Linked DNA regions of Homo sapiens: regions 2 and 3 are each linked to region 1. The links are contacts of gene promoters, found by promoter capture Hi-C in human tissues and cell types (Jung and others, 2019). All regions are on one chromosome and are shown on one strand. The core of a region is centred on a gene start or on the middle of the fragment in contact, and the rest is flanking DNA. Distances in the headings are between cores, read along the strand shown. Region 1 holds the start of KANK2 (KN motif and ankyrin repeat domains 2). Region 2 overlaps TSPAN16 (tetraspanin 16). Region 3 holds the start of DOCK6 (dedicator of cytokinesis 6).

Region 1 (2,590 bases), core at 34-2,533:
CTCACGGCAACCTCCACCTCCCAGATTCAAGTTATTCTCATACCTCAGCCTCCCGAGTAGCTGGGATTACAGATGTGCACCACCATGCCAGGATAGTTTTTGTATTTTTAGTAGAGAAGGGGTTTCACCATGTTGGCCAGGCTGGTCTTGAACTCCTGACCTCAGATGATCCACCCACCTCGGACTCCCAAAGTGCTGGGATTACAGGCATGAGCCATTTCTCGGCCCCAGGTGGTTTTTTGTATTTTGTTTTTTGTAGAGATGGCGTCTTACCATATTGCCAAAGCTGGTCTCCAACTCCTTGGCTCAAATAATCCGCCCACCTTGGCCTCCCAAAGTGCTACGATTACAGGCATGAGCCACTGCGCCTGGCCTAATTTTTTTTCACTTAAAAATTTTTTTGCATAGACAGGGTCTTGCTATGTTGCCCAGGCTGGTCTCGAACTCCTGAGTTCAAGCAGTCCTCTTGCCTTGGCCTCCCTAAGCACTGAGATTACAGGTGTGAGCCACCTCGCCGGCTTAATAATATTTATTAAGCCCTTGCTGAGTGGCTGGCTGTGTACTAAAAGGGCTCCCAGAAAGATCTCTGCAAAAGTAGGCCACTCCATTTATGAGAGTTTTTAACCCGAAGGGCCTCCTTCCTGATGGTTAGGCCCCTTCCTAATGGTCAGTGAATCTTCTCAACGCTCCTATCAGGTAGCTAACATGATCATCTCCATTTTACAGATGAATAAACTGAGGCACAGAGCAGCAAAAGTTTGGTGGGTCTGGGATGGGAATGCAGGTCTGGCTGGCGCCGGCGCCCAGGACTCTGCAGCCTCCCTTCTCGCGCGGCGGTCACGCCACCGTGTGCCAGGACTGCGCTGGGCCGCTTCCAGCCCTGGGCCGCCTGGGGGAGGGGTGACCTCCCGCTGCCGCGCCCGCCCCGCGCGCCCTCCCCGAGCTGGGCCCCGGCCAGCTCCACCCCCTCCCGCCGCCGAGCCGTTCCGCCCCCCGCAGCGGCCCAGGGACAGCAGGCGGTGGGGGGGAGGCCGGCAGTGGGAGGACCCTGCCTCGGGGACTTAGGGAGGAAGGAAGGACGAGGCCGGACACCCCGGCGCGCACACACACCTGCTGTCCAGGTGAGATCCAGTCTCCAACCAGCGTCTCTCCATCCCCACCCCCCACCGCGGCCGGGGCGCCCGGGCGGCTGGAGGGGGCGGTGCCGGCTGGGGGGGCGGGACCAGCCGGAGGGGGCGTGGTGCGGGCGGAGCCACCTCCGAGGGCCGGGCGCCCAGGCTGCGGCGCGCGCGAAGACGCTCGGGCGGCGGGACCCAGGGAAGGCAGCGGCCGGAGCGCGCAAGGCGAGTGGGACCCGGGGCTGGGTAGGGGTTCAAGTCTGGTTCGGGGATCGAGTGTGCACCCCCTCCACACACACCTACTACCCTACCCCCCGCCTCCAACCCTGGGACACGACCTCGCTGGTCTCAACGAGCCGCTGCCTCCAACTCCACCTTCTGTGCCCAAACTTTCCAGACTTGGAGTGTCTGTCCCCGCGTCCCTGCCCCCTCCTCGTCTTTGACCCCATACCCCCATCGATTCCTCCCAGTACCCCCCATCGATTCCTCGTGCCCTGCCCGTTTCTCCTGTCTTGGCTCCCCTCTGCCCGCTCTCCCCTGTCTCTGTCCCACTTTCTGCCTCTGTTCCTCCCCGGCTCTGCCCTCTCCCCGCACTGTCCCCCCTCGCCCTCCTCCGCGGCCATGCCCCAGACGGCGGGAAGGCGGCCGGGCGTCCGGCCGGGCTGGGCCTGGGCTTGGCGGCTGGGCCGGCGTGGGGAGCGGCAGCTGTTTGCCATTAGCCCGGGATCCCACAGGCCCCGCCCCCTCTCTGCACGGGGCGGGGTCCTTCTCGCCTCCCCCCACCCCGAGTTTGGGGCGGGAAGACCCCCCCCCACCACCACCACCGACCTCCGCGATGTGCAGGCCGGTCTTGGGTGGTGGGTTGGGGAGACCCGCGCCCCTTCCCTGCGCTCCCTACCTGTCCCCTCTTATAGGCTCCAGTCTCTCCATCTCTGTCTTATCCTGTCACCCCTTCCCCATTCCCCAGGGGTCCCATGGCGAGAGAAGGGTCTCAGCCACAGACATCCATCTCCCCCACCACACCCCCTCGTCTCCTTTCTCTTCCCCTTACTCGGGACGTGCTGGTCCTCATCGAGGGCGGTGAGATGACTGAGTACCCTCAGACCTCAGTCTCCGTATCTGGGAAACGGGTAGAGATATCTGATGTGGAGTCTGAGGGTGGTGGCTTGGTGGGCAGTGGGGGGATCCACCAGGCTTAGGTTCATGTTCAGGCCCAGCCACTTCCCCATGGCCCCAGTGACCCCGAGGAAGCCACTGTACCTTTCTGTACCCTCTGCATCCCCTGTCTGTGAAACGGGGCGATAAGTGCCCATCTCATAGAATTGTCATGACAATTAAAAGAGTTGATGTTAGGCTGGGTGCAGTGGCTCATGCCTGTAATCCCAGCACTTTGGGAGGCCAAGGCGGGCGGATCACCTGAGGTCAGGAGTTCGAGACCAGCCTGACCAACATGGAGAAACACCATCTCTACT
Region 2 (2,590 bases), core at 24-2,523, 110 kb before region 1:
CATTTAGGGTCTCTAGAAGGCAGGTAGTGTGGTGCCGGCAATGGACTCAGGCCAATGGGGCTTCAAATTCCAACTCTGCCAAAGCTCTGTGATCTTGAACTAGTGATGTCCCCTCCCCGAGCCTCAGTTTCTGAGAGAAGGTAACCGTAAGTCCCTGCTCTGTGTTGTCAAAATAAGCTGAACACTCAATAAGAGTTGATTTCTTTCTCCCTGACCCCCTTTGCAGGGGTCCCCCAAAAGAAGCAATTTTTATTAAAGTTACCAGGCTGGGTGTGGTGGTTCATGCCTGTAATCCCAGCATTTTGAGAGGCTGAGGCAGGAGGATTGCTTGAGGCCAGGAGTTCGAGACCAGCCTGGGCAACATACTAAGGCCTCATCTCTATTAAAAATAAAAATTAAAAAAAAATTAGCCAGGCATGGTGGCACGTGCCTGTGGTCCCAGCTACTCGGGAGGCTGAGGCAGGAGGATCACTTGAGCCCAGGAGTTTGAGGCTGCAGTGAGCCGTGATTGCACCATTGCACTCCTGCCTGGGCAACAGAGTGAGACCCTATCTCTAAAAAAATAAAAATAAGGCCGGGTGTGGTGGCTCATGCCTGTAATCCCAGCACTTTGGGAGGCCGAGGTGGGAGGATCACTTGAGCTCAGGAGTTTGAGACCAGCCTGGCCAACATGAGGAAACCCCATCTCTAGTAAAAATACAAAAATCAGCCGGGCGTGGTGGCACACACCTGTAATCCCAGCTACTCGGGAGGCTGAGGCAGGAGAATCACTTGAACCCAGGAGGCGGAGGTTGCAGTGAGCCAAGATGGCACCATTGCACTCCAGCCTGGGAGACACAGTGAAACTCCATCTCAAAATAACTAACTAAATAAATAAATAAAAAGGCTGGGTACAGTAGCTCATGCCTGTAATCCCAGCACTTTGGGAGGCCAAGGTGGGTGGATCACCTGAGGTTCGAGACCAGCCTGGCCAACATGGTGAAACCCCATCTCTACTAAAAATACAAAATTAGCCGGGTGTGGCGGTGCATGCCTGTGATCCCAGCTACTTGGGAGGCTGGGGCGGGAGAATCACTTGAACCTGGGAGGCGGAGGTTGCAGTGAGCCGAGATCGCACCACTGCACTCCAGCCTGGGTGACAAGGGTGAAACTCTTTCTCAAAATAAGATAAAAATAAAAATGAAGTCACCAGCCCTCAGGGGTCTGTCAAGGCAACACACAAAATCTCCAGTTACCTTCTGGTGGATGACGTTTGGAGACACATCGCGTCCGTCACAGGACACACTTCCGATGGATTTACAGCAACTCCTGGGGTAGGTGTGGCCCGTTGTCATTTCGAAGGAAGAGCCAGAAAAATCTGTGTAGTTATTCACCCCACAGCACTTTAGCTATAGAGAGGAGAAGAAATACTTGGAGAGTCCCTTTCAAATAATAAAAACATCAGAAATCACGGTTACCATGGCTACCGTCTAGTATGGTCACAATATCCCAGAGACTGTGCTAAACATCCTCTTACAAACATCCCATCACAGCCCAGAACCCTCCCTGGCTCCCATCTCACTCAGGGTAAAAGCTGAACTCCTAGCCTGGGCAACAGGGTGAGACCCCATCTCGGCAAAAAAATTTAAAAATTAGCCAGGCATGGTGGCAGATGCCGGTATTCCCAGCTACTCAGGAGGCTCAGGCTAGAGGATCTCTTGAGCCCGGGAGATCAAGGCTGCAGTGAGCTATGACCTCACCACTACATTCCACCCTGGGCAACAGAGCAAGACCTGTCTCTAAAAAGAAAAAAAAGCTGAACTCCTCAGTGATTCTCCTGCCTCAGTCTCCCGAGTAGCTGGGATTTCAGGCACACGCCCCCACGCCTGGCTAATTTTTGTATTTTTAGTAGAGACAGGTTTATGCCACGTTGGCCAGGCTGGTCTCGAATTCCTGACCTCAAGTGATCCACCCTCCTTGTCCTCCCAAAGTGCTGGGATTAGCGGCGTGAGCCACCGTGCCCGGCCCTGCCTTGTTTTTATTCACAGCAGTTATGAACCTGATACCAATGTTTAGTTATTGGTTTCTTGCCCATCTCTCCACTCACATGTCAGTAACGGAAGAACCAGAGATTGCCCATCTCTTCATTCACATGTCAGTAATGGAAGAATGAATTTGAAGTGCAGTGCTGAGATCGTAGCTTACTGCAACCTCAATCTTCTGGGCTCAAGCGATTCTCCCTCCTCTGCCTCCTGAGTAGCTGGGACTACAGGTGCAGGCCATCACGCCTGGCTACATTTTTTATCTATTGTAGAGATGGGTCTTGCTATGTTGCCTGGGCTGGTCTCAAACTCTTAGCCTCAAGCGATCCACCCATCTCAGCCTCCCAAAGTGCTAGGATTACAGATGTGAGCCACTGCACCTGGCCCAACAAGGATTTTATTTTTATTTTTATTTTTATTTTTATTTTTATTATTTTTTTTGAGACACAGTCTCTGTCTGTTGCCCAGGTTGGAGTGCAATGGCGCGATCTTGGCTCTCTGCAACTTCCACCTCCTGGGTTCAAGCAATTCTCCTACCTCGGCCTCCCGAGTAGCTGGGATTACAGGCA
Region 3 (2,590 bases), core at 54-2,553, 65 kb before region 1:
CTCCTCCAGAGGGGAGTGTCGGCTGGAGAATTCTCTAAAAATGCTGCAGCAGTGCTGGGAGAGAGGCCAGTGGGGAGAGATTTGAGACCATAGATTAACCAAGACATCCCCACCTCTTCCTCTTGGTAGAGGCGGCCCCGAAAGTCTAGACTCCCAAACTGGCTCACTCAGGTCCCACCACCTGGACCTGGGGCACATCTCCGAGCACTCCAGTGCCTAGCCAGGCTCCTCTGACTCCCATGCTGTAGACTGGGAGCACGGACAATGCAGGCGCTGGAGACCCCTGTGAGTCACACTGAGCAAGCACCCGAACACCTCTGTGCCTCAGTTTACTCATCTGTAAAAGGAGGAAAACAATAATTTCTTCTGCATGTGTGAATTGCAGGGCCAGGCTCAATGACATCTTAGCAATTAGACTTTTTGAGACAGGGTCTCGCTCTGTCACCCAGGCTGGATTGAAATGGCACAATCACAGCTCACTGCAGCCTTGACCTCCCAGGCTCAAGCGATCCTCCTCCCTCAGACTCCCAAGTAGCTGAGATTACAGGCACACACCACCATGCCTGGTTAATTTTTGCATTTTTTGTGGACACGGGGTCTCATTATGTTGCCCAGGCTGGTCTCCAACTCCTGGGCTCAAACAATCCTCCTGCCTTGGCCCCCCACAGTGCTGGGATTACAGGCATGAGCCACCATGCACGGCCACGATTATACTTACAGGTATGATTATTAGATACATGAACATCGTTATTGTTTTCCAGCCAGGAGTCAGAGGGCAGAAAGAGCGCCCCCCAAACCCCGGAAATCTGGGGCCTACCCAGCCTGGGTCCCAGCGCCTCCCCTCCCTCCCTCCCTCCTGAGCTTCAGTTTCCCCAGCCCTGCTCCTGGGGTGGTAAGACCACCCCACTAAACCCCGGGAGCCTGGGGTCCACCTAGCCCGGGTCTCAGCGCCTCCCTTCCCTCCCTCCCTCCTCAGGCTCAGTTTCTCCAGCCCAGCTCCCAGGGTGGAAAGAGCGCCCCCGCCAGCTCGGGAGTCTGGGGCACCCCCAGTCTGGGTCCCAGCGCCTCCTCTCCCTAACTTCCCTCCTCAGCCTCAGTTTCCCCAGCCCTTCTCCTAGGGTAGAAAGAGCGTCCCCCCAGCCCGGGAGTCTGGGGCCCGCCCAGCCTGGATCCCGGGGCCTCCTCTCCGTCCCCAGCCTCAGTTTCCCCAGCCCCCAGGACTCCAGGCGACCCCTCCGGCCTGCAGGGGCAGCACGGAGCGGCCCGGGCCACCCGGAAGGGCCCCGCCCCCGCGCCGGCCCCGCCCCGCCCCGGCTGCCCAGAACCGGGAGGCGGCGGCGGCGGCGGGGCCGGGGCCCGGGGCGGCGGCGGCGGGACGCGAGGACCATGGCTGCCTCCGAGCGCCGCGCCTTCGCGCACAAGATCAACAGGTAGTGTGGCCGCGGGGCCCCCTCCCACCTCCCCCACGTGGCCCGGCTCCGCCCCGGGGCGGTGCGACCCTCCCCGCCCGGGCGCCCCCAATTCAACCCCTTTCCGCCTCGGCCCGGGTCCCGCCAGCTTCCTCCGGCCGGGGCTGGGAGCGGGAGAAGGCGGGGAGGGCCGCGGGGGTCCCGGCGGGGGTCCCAGATGGGAGTCGCGTCGGGGCTGGGAGCGCGATGGCGGCTGCCGTTCTGCCTCCGTGACGCGCGGGGGTGTGTCCGGAGGGCTTCCCGGAGGAGGTGGCGTGGGGATGCGGATGACGGGCGCCCCCTGAACTCCCTGCGCTCCCCGTCCGCCTCTCGGCCCCTCACTGTCCCCGCGCTCTCGGAGATCGGGGTGGGCCGGACTTTCTGTTCCTTCCTCAGTGCCTGGTTTGGGGCAGGGAGGCTCCAGGCTCTGAGATTTGGGGACAGAGATGGGCTCCTTGGTGGCGTTTGAAACCCCTCGAGGAGTTTCCCGTGCCCTTCCCCCTCCAGGGTCCAGTGCCCAGCTGTCGGGGGGGGGGAAGGGGGACAGCTGTGGACGCCCCCCCACCTTCTGCTTCAGGCTCTCCCGTCACGGGCTGGACCGCGCTGGGGATGGATGGGTGATTGAATGGAGGGAGTGGGGGCTGGGGACAGAACCAGCTGGTGGGCAGACGGGGGAGGGGACAGGCCCCAGGCGCTGGGGGATCCATTTCCGTGGCCACTGGGGATTGTGAGAGTCACAGCCTGGGAGGGGTATATCAGACTCTCTGGGGCTGAAAAGCCTCGCCCCCAGTTGGCGGGGGGTCTTTGCGACAAGGGTGCGTTCAGAAGCTCAGGTATCCTCTCCCCGGGGGACCTGTCCTGACTGCCCCCAGGTGAAAGAGCTGCCCTGTGGGTTGGGCCCTGGTCTTATGGAGACAAAAGATCCCCCTCTTGGGATATAGTGGCGGAGAGAGACCAGAAGCCTGATCGAGTAGATTACCTGTCAGTGACAAGTGCTGTAGGGACAAGAAGACAGGGAAGGGGGATGGGAGGGTGGGGGCTGCTTGAGATGCGGGAGGTGGGTCAGGAAGGCCTGGATGAGCAGGTGCCTTTGAGCAAAAACCTCAAGGAGATGAGAGAGGGATCGATCGAGGCCAGTTTGT

The links. The method cuts DNA at HindIII sites, captures the fragments that hold promoters and counts their contacts. A contact is called where the count stands out against the background at its distance.
Region 2: a fragment that was not itself captured here is called in contact with the fragment with the promoter of KANK2 in region 1 in 2 of the 25 tissues and cell types used here (dorsolateral prefrontal cortex and lymphoblastoid cells).
Region 3: the fragment with the promoter of DOCK6 here is called in contact with the fragment with the promoter of KANK2 in region 1 in 6 of the 25 tissues and cell types used here (aorta, dorsolateral prefrontal cortex, lymphoblastoid cells and 3 more).

Annotation. Positions count from the first base shown.
Region 1 is chr19:11,196,238-11,198,827 of GRCh38, reverse strand. It overlaps KANK2 (KN motif and ankyrin repeat domains 2), which reads left to right and starts at 1,283. Exons shown (of 13, transcript NM_001136191.3): 1 at 1,283-1,343. RefSeq lists a silencer at 800-1,419. The HindIII fragment of the contact is 26,033 bases long and covers 1-2,590 here.
Region 2 is chr19:11,305,402-11,307,991 of GRCh38, reverse strand. It overlaps TSPAN16 (tetraspanin 16), which reads right to left. Exons shown (of 7, transcript NM_001282509.2): 5 at 1,236-1,388. The region is part of intron 1 of TSPAN16-AS1 (TSPAN16 antisense RNA 1); the gene reads left to right. Among named protein-coding and RNA genes, the nearest start is that of TSPAN16, 11 kb to the right of the region's middle. The HindIII fragment of the contact is 9,661 bases long and covers 1-2,590 here.
Region 3 is chr19:11,261,237-11,263,826 of GRCh38, reverse strand. It overlaps DOCK6 (dedicator of cytokinesis 6), which reads left to right and starts at 1,303. Exons shown (of 48, transcript NM_020812.4): 1 at 1,303-1,430. The coding sequence starts at 1,387. RefSeq lists silencers at 1,219-1,378, 1,449-1,508, 1,589-1,728. The HindIII fragment of the contact is 27,433 bases long and covers 1-2,590 here.